Regions from separate parts of the Homo sapiens genome. Here all the other regions are linked to region 1. The links are contacts of gene promoters, found by promoter capture Hi-C in blood cells and fetal thymus (Javierre and others, 2016). All regions are on one chromosome and are shown on one strand. The core of a region is centred on a gene start or on the middle of the fragment in contact, and the rest is flanking DNA. Distances in the headings are between cores, read along the strand shown. Region 1 holds the start of NUP214 (nucleoporin 214). Region 2 overlaps PRRC2B (proline rich coiled-coil 2B). Region 3 overlaps PRRC2B (proline rich coiled-coil 2B).

Evidence for each region. The method cuts DNA at HindIII sites, captures the fragments that hold promoters and counts their contacts. A CHiCAGO score of 5 or more calls a contact.
Region 2: a fragment that was not itself captured here is called in contact with the fragment with the promoter of NUP214 in region 1 in 1 of 17 cell types (erythroblasts); the score reaches 5.3 in erythroblasts.
Region 3: a contact is called between a fragment that was not itself captured here and the fragment with the promoter of NUP214 in region 1, in 1 of 17 cell types (erythroblasts). The highest score is 5.3, in erythroblasts.

Annotation. Positions count from the first base shown.
Region 1 is chr9:131,123,881-131,127,330 of GRCh38, reverse strand. NUP214 (nucleoporin 214) reads right to left here and starts at 1,745. Exons shown (of 36, transcript NM_005085.4): 1 at 1,582-1,745. The coding sequence starts at 1,626. It also overlaps the pseudogene RNU6-881P. RefSeq lists an enhancer at 1,547-1,846. The HindIII fragment of the contact is 3,004 bases long and covers 1-1,777 here.
Region 2 is chr9:131,402,182-131,405,767 of GRCh38, reverse strand. The region is part of intron 1 of PRRC2B (proline rich coiled-coil 2B); the gene reads right to left. Among named protein-coding and RNA genes, the nearest start is that of PRRC2B, 9.9 kb to the right of the region's middle. RefSeq lists an enhancer at 3,510-3,586. The HindIII fragment of the contact is 276 bases long and covers 1,778-2,053 here.
Region 3 is chr9:131,455,914-131,459,797 of GRCh38, reverse strand. PRRC2B (proline rich coiled-coil 2B) reads right to left here. Exons shown (of 32, transcript NM_013318.4): 11 at 442-634. Among named protein-coding and RNA genes, the nearest start is that of SNORD62A, 28 kb to the left of the region's middle. The HindIII fragment of the contact is 1,681 bases long and covers 908-2,588 here.

The DNA of each region.
Region 1 (3,450 bases), core at 496-2,995:
GCTCACTGCAACCTCTGCCTCCCAGGTTCAAGCGATTCTCCTGCTTCAGACTCCCAAGTAGCTGGGATTACAGGCACCCGCCACCATGGCCATCTAATTTTTGTATTTTTAGTAGACACAGGGTTTCATTATGTTGGCCAGGCTAGTCTCGAACTCCGGACCTCAAGTGATCCATCCACCTCAGCCTCCCAAAGTGCAAGCTCACAGGCATGAGCCACCACACTCGGCCCTCATTTTTTTCTGATATGGAACACTTCATGAATTTGTCTGTCATCCATGTAAAGGGGCCATAATAGTCTTCTCTGCATGATCCCAATTTTATATGTGCTGCCAAAGGGAGTGCGAGATTACCATCTTCTAAGTCTGTGGTTCTATTAATAAAACCTTTTTTTCTTCTACCCCAGCATATCTGAGGAATATGACACAACCCCATTAGGTGGCTCACCACAGGTGGTGATTCTCAAAAAATAATCACTATTCTAGGACAGCACGGTAGCTCACGCCTATAATCCCAGCACTTTGGGAGCCAGAGGAGGGCGGATCACGTTAGGTCAGGAGTTCGAGACCAGCCTGGCCAACATCGTGAAACCCAGTCTCTACCAAATGATATAAAAAATTAGTGGGGCGTGGTGGCAGGCGCCTGTAATACCAGCTACTAGGGAGGTTGAAGCAGGAGAATCGCTTGAGCCGGGGAGGTGGAGGTTGCAGGGAGCCGAGATCATGCCACTGCACTCCAGCTTGGGTGACAGAGCAAGACTCTGTCTCAAAAAAAAAAAAAAATCACTATTCTAAACATGGTATTACTATGCCCTAAATGCATTTTAGTGATTTATTGTTCACACAGATGCCTAAAATCTTCCTGCAACTTACTTCTTTTCACTATTTAAAACAGATGTAGCCCGTCTGTTGTACCCTCATTCTGTCAGAACCCATATAAGAACTATTAAACACACCATCCTGAAGTTATCCCTGGGGGACTCCCACGTTGCTATCACTGGGACCACTTGGCCCTCCCTTTAGGTTCCTGACTTTAGGCTGATATACCGAGGTCAAAATAGTCTTCCTAGTCCAATCAACTAAAGGTTCTGCAGGATGGATGACCTTCCCTGACTCTACGTTAGGCAAGCCCGTATCACCTTACAGAAGTACTGGGAGAGCAAAGGTCTTAAATGATGCTGGCTTTCAGCCCCGCGTCAAATGTGACTTTAGGGAAATTACTTTCCGAGCCTCAACTTACTCCTCTACGTTAACGACTACTTCGTAGGGCTGCCGCGATGACTACCACAGTGCCTGGCACACAGTCAACACTCAATAAACAGCAGTTATTGCCACTATTGTGACCGCCCCAGGAAGTAGCTAGGGTAACTCAACAGCCGTGCACGAGACCAGGATGGGACTGGGAAACTGCATTCGGTGGGGCTATCACGCCAGCGGCGCGGCAGACGCGCTGGTGAGAGCTGTGAACGCGGTAAACTGTTCAAGCAGGAGGCGGGACAGCCAGCACCGCGCTTCGCCTTTCAGCTGGGCTCCAAGGCAACGCCAGGACTAAAGAAGGGAGGGAGGCCCCGGTTAGTCTCTGACCTTCATCTCCCGCTCGGGAATCATGGCATCCATCTCGTCTCCCATCGCGCCGCCCTCAGTGTGTCGAAGCAGCCAACGCTGCCTCCCACGGCCTTGCCCACGGAACCCAGGCCGCTCGACAGCAAACTTCCTCCCCTCAGCGCCAGCGGCGCGCAGTTGACCTCGCATTTCCGGCGCGCTTTGGTGACGTCAAGCTTGGTCAGAGGAAGCCGCGGAACCTAGCGAAGCCGCGCGTTCTTCCGGCCGCCGCTCCCCATTGGCCAGCTCGGGCTGAGTAGTGGCGTGGCCGTGAGGTCCCTGCGCCTGCGCCCTGGATGGTCCTGGTGCCGCTCCCGCCTTCGCAGCCAGCGCGGGCTTACCTAGTGTTAAGTCTCTCTTCTTGGGTGGCCCACGCCTAAGCGACCTATGCTTCTTGTTCTTCTGAAATCTTACAGTTCCCCTTAGATGTAGGTTGGCTATTGGTAGCTTCCGATTCAGATAAGTTTGGAACTTGACAGATGTTTTCGGGGGGCTGCTTTAGAGAGAGGCTTTGGACTATGCAAGGGGAGGAAGGGAGGTTCAGAAAAACGGGGTCGGGGGGTCGGCAGGGACGACTCTTAAAGTGTGGAAGGTGGAAGGCTGGGAGGGGAGATTAAAGGGCACCGAAGACCAGCTTTGTTTGCTCCTATCAAGGTGATCCTTTCCAGAGCAAGAGCCATATCCATGTCTAGTCGCACGAGTTTGTGCCAAGTCCTTTGCAAAAACCTTCAGATGTGGGATCTCATGTAATCTTGAAGACATCTTAGTCGTCCTAGGGGTTATTTATTTAATTGATGAGACGCGGGTGGCTCATGCCTATAATCCCAGCACTTGGGAGGCGGAGACAGGAGGATTGCTTGAGACCAGGAGTTTGAGACCAGCCTCGGCAACATGGCGAGACCCCGTCTCTATAAAAAACAAAACAAAACCACAAAAATTAGCCAGCAGTGATGGCATGCGTATGTAGTCTCAGCTACTCGGGAGGCTGAGGTGGGAGAATTGCCTGAGCCCAGGAGGTTGAGGCTACAGGGAGCTGTGATTGCACCATTGCACTCCAGCCTGGGTGACAGAGCCAGGCCCTGTCTCAAAAAGTAAATAAAAGGCCGGGCGCGGTGGCTCACGCCTGTAATCCCAGCACTTTGCGAGGCCGAGGCGGGCGGATCACGAGGTCAGGAGATGGAGACCATCCTGGCTAACACGGTGAAACCCCGACTCTACTAAAAATACAAAAAATTAGCCGGGCGCGGTGGCGGGCACCTGTAGTCCCAGCTACTCGGGAGGCTGAGGCAGGAGAATGGCGTGAACCCGGGAGGCGGAGGTTGCAGTGAGCAGAGACAGCGCCACTGCAGTCTGGCCTGGGCGAAAGAGCGAGACTCCGTCTCAAAAAAAAAAAAAAAAAAAAAGTAAATAAAAATAGGCTGGGAGCAGTGGCTCACGCCTGTAACCACAGTACTTTGGGAGGCCGAGGTGGGTGGAACACCTGAGGTCAGGAGCTCGAGACCAGCCTGGCCAACATGGTGAAACCCCGTCTCTGCTAAAAATACAACAATTAGCCGGGTGTGGTGGCGGACGCCTGTGTTCCCAGCTATACAGGAGGCTGAGGCAGGAGAATCGCATGAACACAAAAGGTGGAGGTTGCAGTGAGCTAAGATTGTGCCACTGCACTCCAGCCTGGGTGACAGAGTGAGACTCTGTCTCAGAAAAAAAAAAAAAAAAAAAAAAAAATATATATATATATATATATATACACACACACACACACATATATATATACACACACACACATATATATATATATACACACACACACATACACATACATAATAATAATTGATGAGGTAAGGGAGGCAC
Region 2 (3,586 bases), core at 666-3,165, 280 kb before region 1:
ACTCTCCCAGCGAGCTCTCTCTGAATTCCAGCTAACAATAACCCCCCCAGGAGCCAGAGCAGTGTAATTCCAAACCGCACCTCCTCTTGCCAGAGCACAAATCCCCGCCAGCCTAGCCTGATGAAACACCACCACCCAGGCATTCCAGTGCTTCATTTCTGCAGTCACTTCAACCAATGGTGTGATCTCCTGGAAGAACTAAACCAAAGTGGGGGGCAGGAGGGGTGGCAAGTGACGCCAAGAGGTTGAGTCGAGAAGTGAGATATGCACAACAGCCACTATCAGGAGCTGCAAAAGCGCCAACAGCAATGAATATTAACAGCAACAAAACCACCAAGGACTGTGAAAGACGGGGCTATGAGAAAACTTAAAATGGAGGCCGTCTCTGAATTTTATGCACCAGGCTCCAGTGTATAACAGTTGGAAGAAAACAGGCAGCAAGGACAATCATTTTACTTGATACAGAAAATCAACCTTAGACCTGGCTGTGTCTATCGCCTCCTTCCAGCTCCCACAGTGGCCTTCACCTAACAAGACACCCAGAGCAACTCCTCCAGTGGCCGCTTCTGCACTGTGAACGGAGCTGCTGTGTCTGATCGCTGTCTGCCCAAGCTCACCAAAACATCAGACCCTACGCTCACCACAGAAAGCCGCAAACAGTAGCTTTTGATTGGAAAATGTGCACACCCAAAACAATCCAAAAAGCCTGTTCATTTAGAAAAGCCCATAGTCCAGAAACATACGCTCACACATATAAGCTGATACAAAGTTTTCTGAAGAGAAATCTGGCAGAATTCTTACCAAAAAGCTATTCAGTTGAAGAGTCCACACTGCAGAACCACATTCTCACACTTACATGCTTACATACAAATTGTATGTTTTTGAAAACAAATCTGGTACAGTTTGACCAAAATTGTGTAATATTCCAAAACTACAAATAGCCCAAATGTCCACCAGTAGGAGACAGAGGTTAAATCAAGTATACCCACAAAATATTCTCTGCAGTTGCTAAAATAGATAACATAATCCGTCTGCGTAGCTGTCAGGGAGCACGCTGAGACATTTTATCACGTGAAAGGGCAGCAGCATGCTTGAAGAATACAAACGTGCATGTGGATAATGTGGGTTTTTTTCTGGGAGGAATCCCAAGAACTTCCTCACACTGGTTTTTTTTTCAGAGAGAGTGGGGAAGAGCCTTTATACCTCCCTGAGCAACTTGAATTTTCTTTTTAAAAAGTCAACTGGGGGCCGGGTGCAGTGGCTCACGCCTGTAATCCCAGCACTTTGGGAGGCTGAGGCGGGTGGCTCGCCTGAGGTCAAGAGTTCGAGACCAGCCTGGCCAACATAGTGAAATCTCGTCTTTATTAAAAATACAAAAAAATCAACTAGGCATGGTGGCGGATGCCTGTAATCCCAGCTACTAGGGAGGCTGAGGCAGAAGAATTGCTTGAACCCAGGAGGCGGAGGTTGCAGTGAGCCAAGATCACGCCATTGCCTTCCTGGGCAACAAGCAAAACTCTGTCCCCACCACCAAAAAAAAAAAAAAAAAAAGTCAACTGGGAATATCTAAACCATGGGATTATAAACGATTTTTTCTTCTTTTACACACCTGTATATTTTTTAGAAACCTAACATTATTTTTAAAACACTTAGTGTGGCAGGTCTGTTCACATGAATATGGAAAAATGGCTGGGTGTGGTGGCTTACACCTGTAATCCTAGCACTTTCAGAGGCCAAGATGGGAAGACAGCTTGAGGCCAGGAGTTCAAGACAAGCTTGGTCAACATAGCGAGACCCACCCCCACATCCCTAAGGAAGAAAAAAAAAGTATTACTGAAAATAAAAATAAGAGAAGTTACGCTTAAAAATACGTATGGAAAAATACTGTGATATTTTGAAAATGCCAAGTTGCAATACAATATAGTATATCCCATTTTTGTTTTTTAAAAAACCTCCCTACATGAGGCCATATTTATACGTGCACTGAGCCTAGAAGGATAAACAAAGCAAATTTATCAATAATGGTTACTGCCTGGGACATTGGGGAAAAGCTTTCATTTCTCTTCAAACACTTGGCTTTTAATTTTGTTTTTTTTTTTTTTTTTAAAGTATGGGCCAGGCGCAGTGGCTCACGCCTGTAATTCTAGCATTTTGGGAGGCTGAGGTGGACAGATGGCCTGAGCTCAGGAGTTTGCGACCAGCCTGGGCAACAAGGCGAAACCCCATCTCTACTAAAATACAAAAAAAAATTAGCCAGGCGTGGCGGGATGCACCTGTACTCCCAGCTACTCAAGAGGCTGAGGCAGGGGAATTGCTTGAACCTGGGAGGTGGAGGTTGCAGTGAGCCGAGATCATGCCACTGCACTCCGGCCTGGGCAACAGAGCAAGACTCCACCTCAAAAAAAAATAAATAAATAAATAAAATAACCTGTATACTTCTGCAATTAACATTTTACCAAAAACAAACAAACAAACAAAAAACCAGAAAATACCACATTATGATTCAGGACACTATCCTCTTCCCAAGGACTTCTGAACACTTGGCCCATTCAGTCCACCGACAGGTCGGTTGGGCAGGCAGGCAGGAGTGATGATGCCCCTCCCAGACAGGCCTGTGCTTTCTGCCCTGGCCTGGAACACAGCTGTTCTTTAAGCTCTGAACCATATGTAAACAACACCTGCCGAAAAAAGTTCTGCAAGACACAAAGGACCCATGGAAAGAGTCCTGGAGATGACCTCCTTTTTCCAGTAGGTCCTGCAGCGATCCATCCCATGGTTCTATACAAAGAGATGATCCTGAAGCGTGTCGGGAAGTTGACGCCGGCTTCCCGGAGGCACAGTCATTCTCTGCCCTCCTCCCTGCTGGCCACTGGCCATACAAGAATGCTTGCATAATGTTCACCATTCAAAGGGCCTCGGCACTCTCTGGAAAGCAGGCTGACCCACAAGTTCTCTTCTGGGACCCATACATTTCTGATTTCCACATAGGAACACATTTTTAATGTTCCAGGGCTCAGCACACTATTTTCAATAGGTGCTTATTTCGAGTCAGCTACATTTTCCAGAATGCCTTCCCTGACTGCCCCACACCCAGACTGAGGTGAGCTTGGTTTCTGCGTGGGCTCCTATAAGACCCCCTTCTCAGACACCTGGCACACAGTGATGAATGGGAAACAACAGAATTCTGCTTCCGGATGCATTTACTCACTCCACTGGGGGAAAGGACCATTCAATACATGAAAACAAAACTATCTACAGGCTGCTGCCCGTCGCTGAATGAATAAATAAAATGTGGTAGATACATGCAAATAAGAGAATATTATTCTGCCTTAAGAATGAAGTTAGTTCTGACACATGCTGCAACATGGATGAACCTTGGAAATACTATGCTAAAAATAAGCCAGACACAAAATGACAAATACTGGATGATCTCACTTACATGAGGTACTTAAGAGTATTCGGTTTCACAGAAAGAAAGTAAAATGGTTGGCAGGGCAAGGTGGCTCAACATTGCCACCATGGGATTACACATGGCTGTAATTCCAGCACTCTGGGAAGCCGAGGCAGGCAAATCGCTTGAGCTCAG
Region 3 (3,884 bases), core at 499-2,998, 330 kb before region 1:
GGAGGCTGAGGTAGGAGGATCCCTTGAGCCCACGAGCTCAAGACTAGCCTGGGCAACATAGTAAGACCTCGTCTCTACAAAAAATGAATGAAATGAGCCAGGTGTGGCAGCACACAGGTAGTCCCAGCTACTCAGGAGGCTGAGGTGGGAGGATCGCTTGAGGGTGGGAGGTGAAGGATAGAGCAAGACCTTATCTTAAAAAAAGTAAGAACAGCCGGGCATGGTGGCTCACACCTGTAATCCTAGCACTTTGGCATCACTTGAGCTGGAGTTTGAGACAAGCCTGGGCAACATAGTGAGACCCTGTCTCTATGAAAAAACATTTTAACAAAAGAAGAAATATAAAAATGAAAAAGAAATGCCCACTTAGGACTTCTCAGAAACCCAGCCACCCAACTCAATGAAGTACAAATACACAGGACAGCCAAGGGCCCTTGGTACCTGGTAGTCAGGGCCTGGTGCCCAGCCATGAAGCTTCCTGGGCGGTGGCTGAGGGTCTGGCGCCTTTCGGACCACACGGGACGCACCCACTGCTTCAGCCCAGTCCTTCCCTTCCTCTCGAGTCCGCTTAGCGTCCGCACTGTCTGCAGAGCTCATTGACAACTGCCGCTGCCTCCTAGGGTCCCAACTGTTCCTAGGACAAACCACATTTGATGTTAAGTTTTTGCACTCAGGCCAAGCATTTCTGATCTCACTGGTCAGAGGCCTTGAGAATTCCCAAGTCAGCTGTCCAAATCATTTTCTTCATTAGAATGGACCACCACTCCCACTACTTCCATGTGAATTCCACGGTTCAGCCCCACCATTTATCAAGTCACTCTCATTAAACAGAGCCCCAGGCACGATATGTCACACTATTTCACCGATGCAAAAAAAAGTCCTCATGATCCTCACTTTAAAGCAAGCTTGTCCAACCACATGTGGCCCAGGATGGCCCTGGGCTCTGGATGCAGCGCAACACAAATTCGTAAACTTTCTTAAAACATTATAAGAGGGCCTGGGCGTAGTGGCTCACGCCTGTAATCCTAGCACTTTGGGAGGCTGAGGCGGGCTGATCATTTGAGGTCAGGAGTTCCAGATCAGCCAGGCCAACATGGTGAAACCAAGTCTCTACTAAAAATACAAAAATTAGCCAGGTGTGGTAGCAGGCACCTGTAATCTCAGCTACTAGAGGCTGAGGTGGGAGAAGTGCTTGAACCCCAGAGGTGAAGGTTGCAGTGAGCCAAAATCGCGGCACTACACTCCAGCCTGGGCAACAAACAGAGAGAGACTCCGTCTCAGAAAAAAAAAAAAATAAAAACACATTATGAGGTATTTTTTCGTAACTTTTTCATTTTAGCTTATCAGCTATCGTTAGTGTTAGTGTATTTTATGTGTGGCTCAAGACAACTCTTCCAGTGTGGCCCAGGGAAGCCAAAAGATTGGACACTCTTGATTTAAAAAGTCAGTAGCTGAGTCTCATCAAGGTTAACGGGGCACCCCTCACAGGGAGGAGCTCACAGATTTGAACCAGGACTCCCAGGTGCGTGTCCGTCTCCTTTTGGTACATCTCCCTCCCTATGCTCTGCACAAGCCAGTTGCTCAATAAATGCCCCTCAAAAGAACAAAAGATGACTACTAAACAGTGCCACAATAAAAAGAGCAAGAGGAGACAAGCAGAGCCGACACAGCATGGAAAAGGAGGAGGTGTTCCAAACAGAGCTGCAGGGGTGGCTGGACAAGAAGGGGATGGGTGCCATGCTCGTCTGGACGCCTCACAATGGAAGCAATGGTGCTGGGGCAAAGCATTTGCAAGGGCCCGGTAATACTGCAGATCAGAGAAAAGCGGGAATCAGGGATGGCAGATGTGTGGGCCTGTGTGTCTACCCACACACGTACGTGGCGAGGGAGGGAAGACGAGGCAGGTAACATAGCTTAGGAGATTACAGAGGGGAAAATTACAGAGGGGACAACAATTACAGAGGGGACAACGGTGATTCCTATCTGACTTTGTCAGAAATGGAGACCACAGTAAAGCTGCTGACCTGTCTAAAAGACCTGTGTTTTTAGAAGATGACTATGGGCAGGGTGTCAAGGACGGGCCATGGAGGACAGGCTGAAAGGATGGAGATGAACTGGTGGACCCATGGATGGTCTGGAAAAGGAGGAGGTCCCAGTGGCCCCAGAGAAAATGAAAAGAGGAGACAGAGTCAGGGCAAGTTTTGGGAGCCAATTGTGTATGAGGAAATAAAGATGCCAAATAAGACATGGATGCATGCACTAAGTCTCTACCAGGTCACCAACCAGCTCAGAGAACATGAAGAAAAAGAGCAGGTTTCAGGAGGAGATCGTTCGGGCACTCTGATTTTGAAGTGCCCTTGGTCAAAGTCAGGGGCAAAACTGTCTCCAAAACCAATGTCCAGTTCCTTCAGGGGAATATGCAGTTCCCATCGCCTCAAAGAGACAAGGAACACAGAGTGTCCTACTGCTCCAATCAGTCTCTAAGAGTTTATGTCTTTGCCTTTGATTTTAATTCTTGATCACAGCTCCTTCTGAGCTTAGTGTTCCAGGAACTGACCCATAGGTATGTCCCGACTGCATCCAAAGCTTCAGCTGAAATCAAACAGCATGAAAGGAAATTACAGAATTTCATTTTTTGTGTGTCATCAGAAAAAGAGTAGCAAAGATTATTACCAACTCTTTCCAGAAGATGGGCACTTACTTTAGGAAGCTTTTAAGTAAAGGATGAAATAACAAAGAAAAAGATGACTCACAGATTTGACTAAACAAATATTCAGTTATTGACAAGAAAACAGAGAAAAATATTTGCAAGACCAACAGCAAAGCATTAACATCTAAACAATATAAAACATTACATTTTAACGGAAAGCAGTGATAAATGTGAAGGAAACAGGCATTATACAAAGGAAGCAAAGGAAAAAGTCTTACTTGCTAGTACTCAAAAAATACAAATTATGACAACCATAGGTATGATTGTTATTATTAATTTTTTGAGACAGGGCCTTACTCTGTCACTCAGGCTGGAGTGCAGTGGTGCAATCATGGCTCACTGCAGCCTCGACCTTCTGGATTCCAGTAGTCCTCCCACCTCAGCCTCCTGAGTAGCTAGGACTACAGGTGCACACCACGCCCAACTAATTGTGGGGTATTTTTTTTTTTTGAGGTGGAGTCTCGCTCTGTTGCCCGGGCTGGAGTGCAGTGGCATGTGGCGTGATCTCGGCTCACTGCAAGCTCCGCCTCCCGGGTTCATGCCATTCTCCTGCCTCAGCCTCCCGAGTAGCTGGGACTACAGGCACCTACCACCATGCCCAGCTAGTTTTTTGTATTTTTAGTAGAGACGGGGTTTCACTGTGTTAGCCAGGATGGTCTCGATCTCCTGACCTCGTGATCCGCCCGCCTTGGCCTCCCAAAGTGCTAGGATTACAGGCGTGAGCCACCGTGCCTGGCCATTGTGGGGTATTATTTTAAAAGTGCTACTAACATTATAAAAACTAGAGGGATGAGAGTACAATGCAGTATTTTCTAAAGGAAATTAAACAAAACTAAACTAGTCCAAGGAAATGATCCAAAAAAAAAAAAAAAAAAAGAGACAAAATTAACATGGTCAAATAAATTCAGGAAAGCTGGCATGCATTCTGCTTCTTCACCTCCCCAGTGCACTTAATTTTTTTTTTCTTTTTCCTTTGAGACAGAGTTTTGCTCTGTCGCCCAGGCTGAAGTACAGTGGCACAATCTTGGCTCACTGCAACCTCTGCCTCCTGGGTTCAAGCAATTCTCCTGCCTCAGCCACCCAAGTAGCTGGGATTACAAGCACACGCCACCACACCTGGTTAATTTTTGTACTTTTAGTAGAGACGGGGTTTCACCATCTTGGGCAGGCTGGT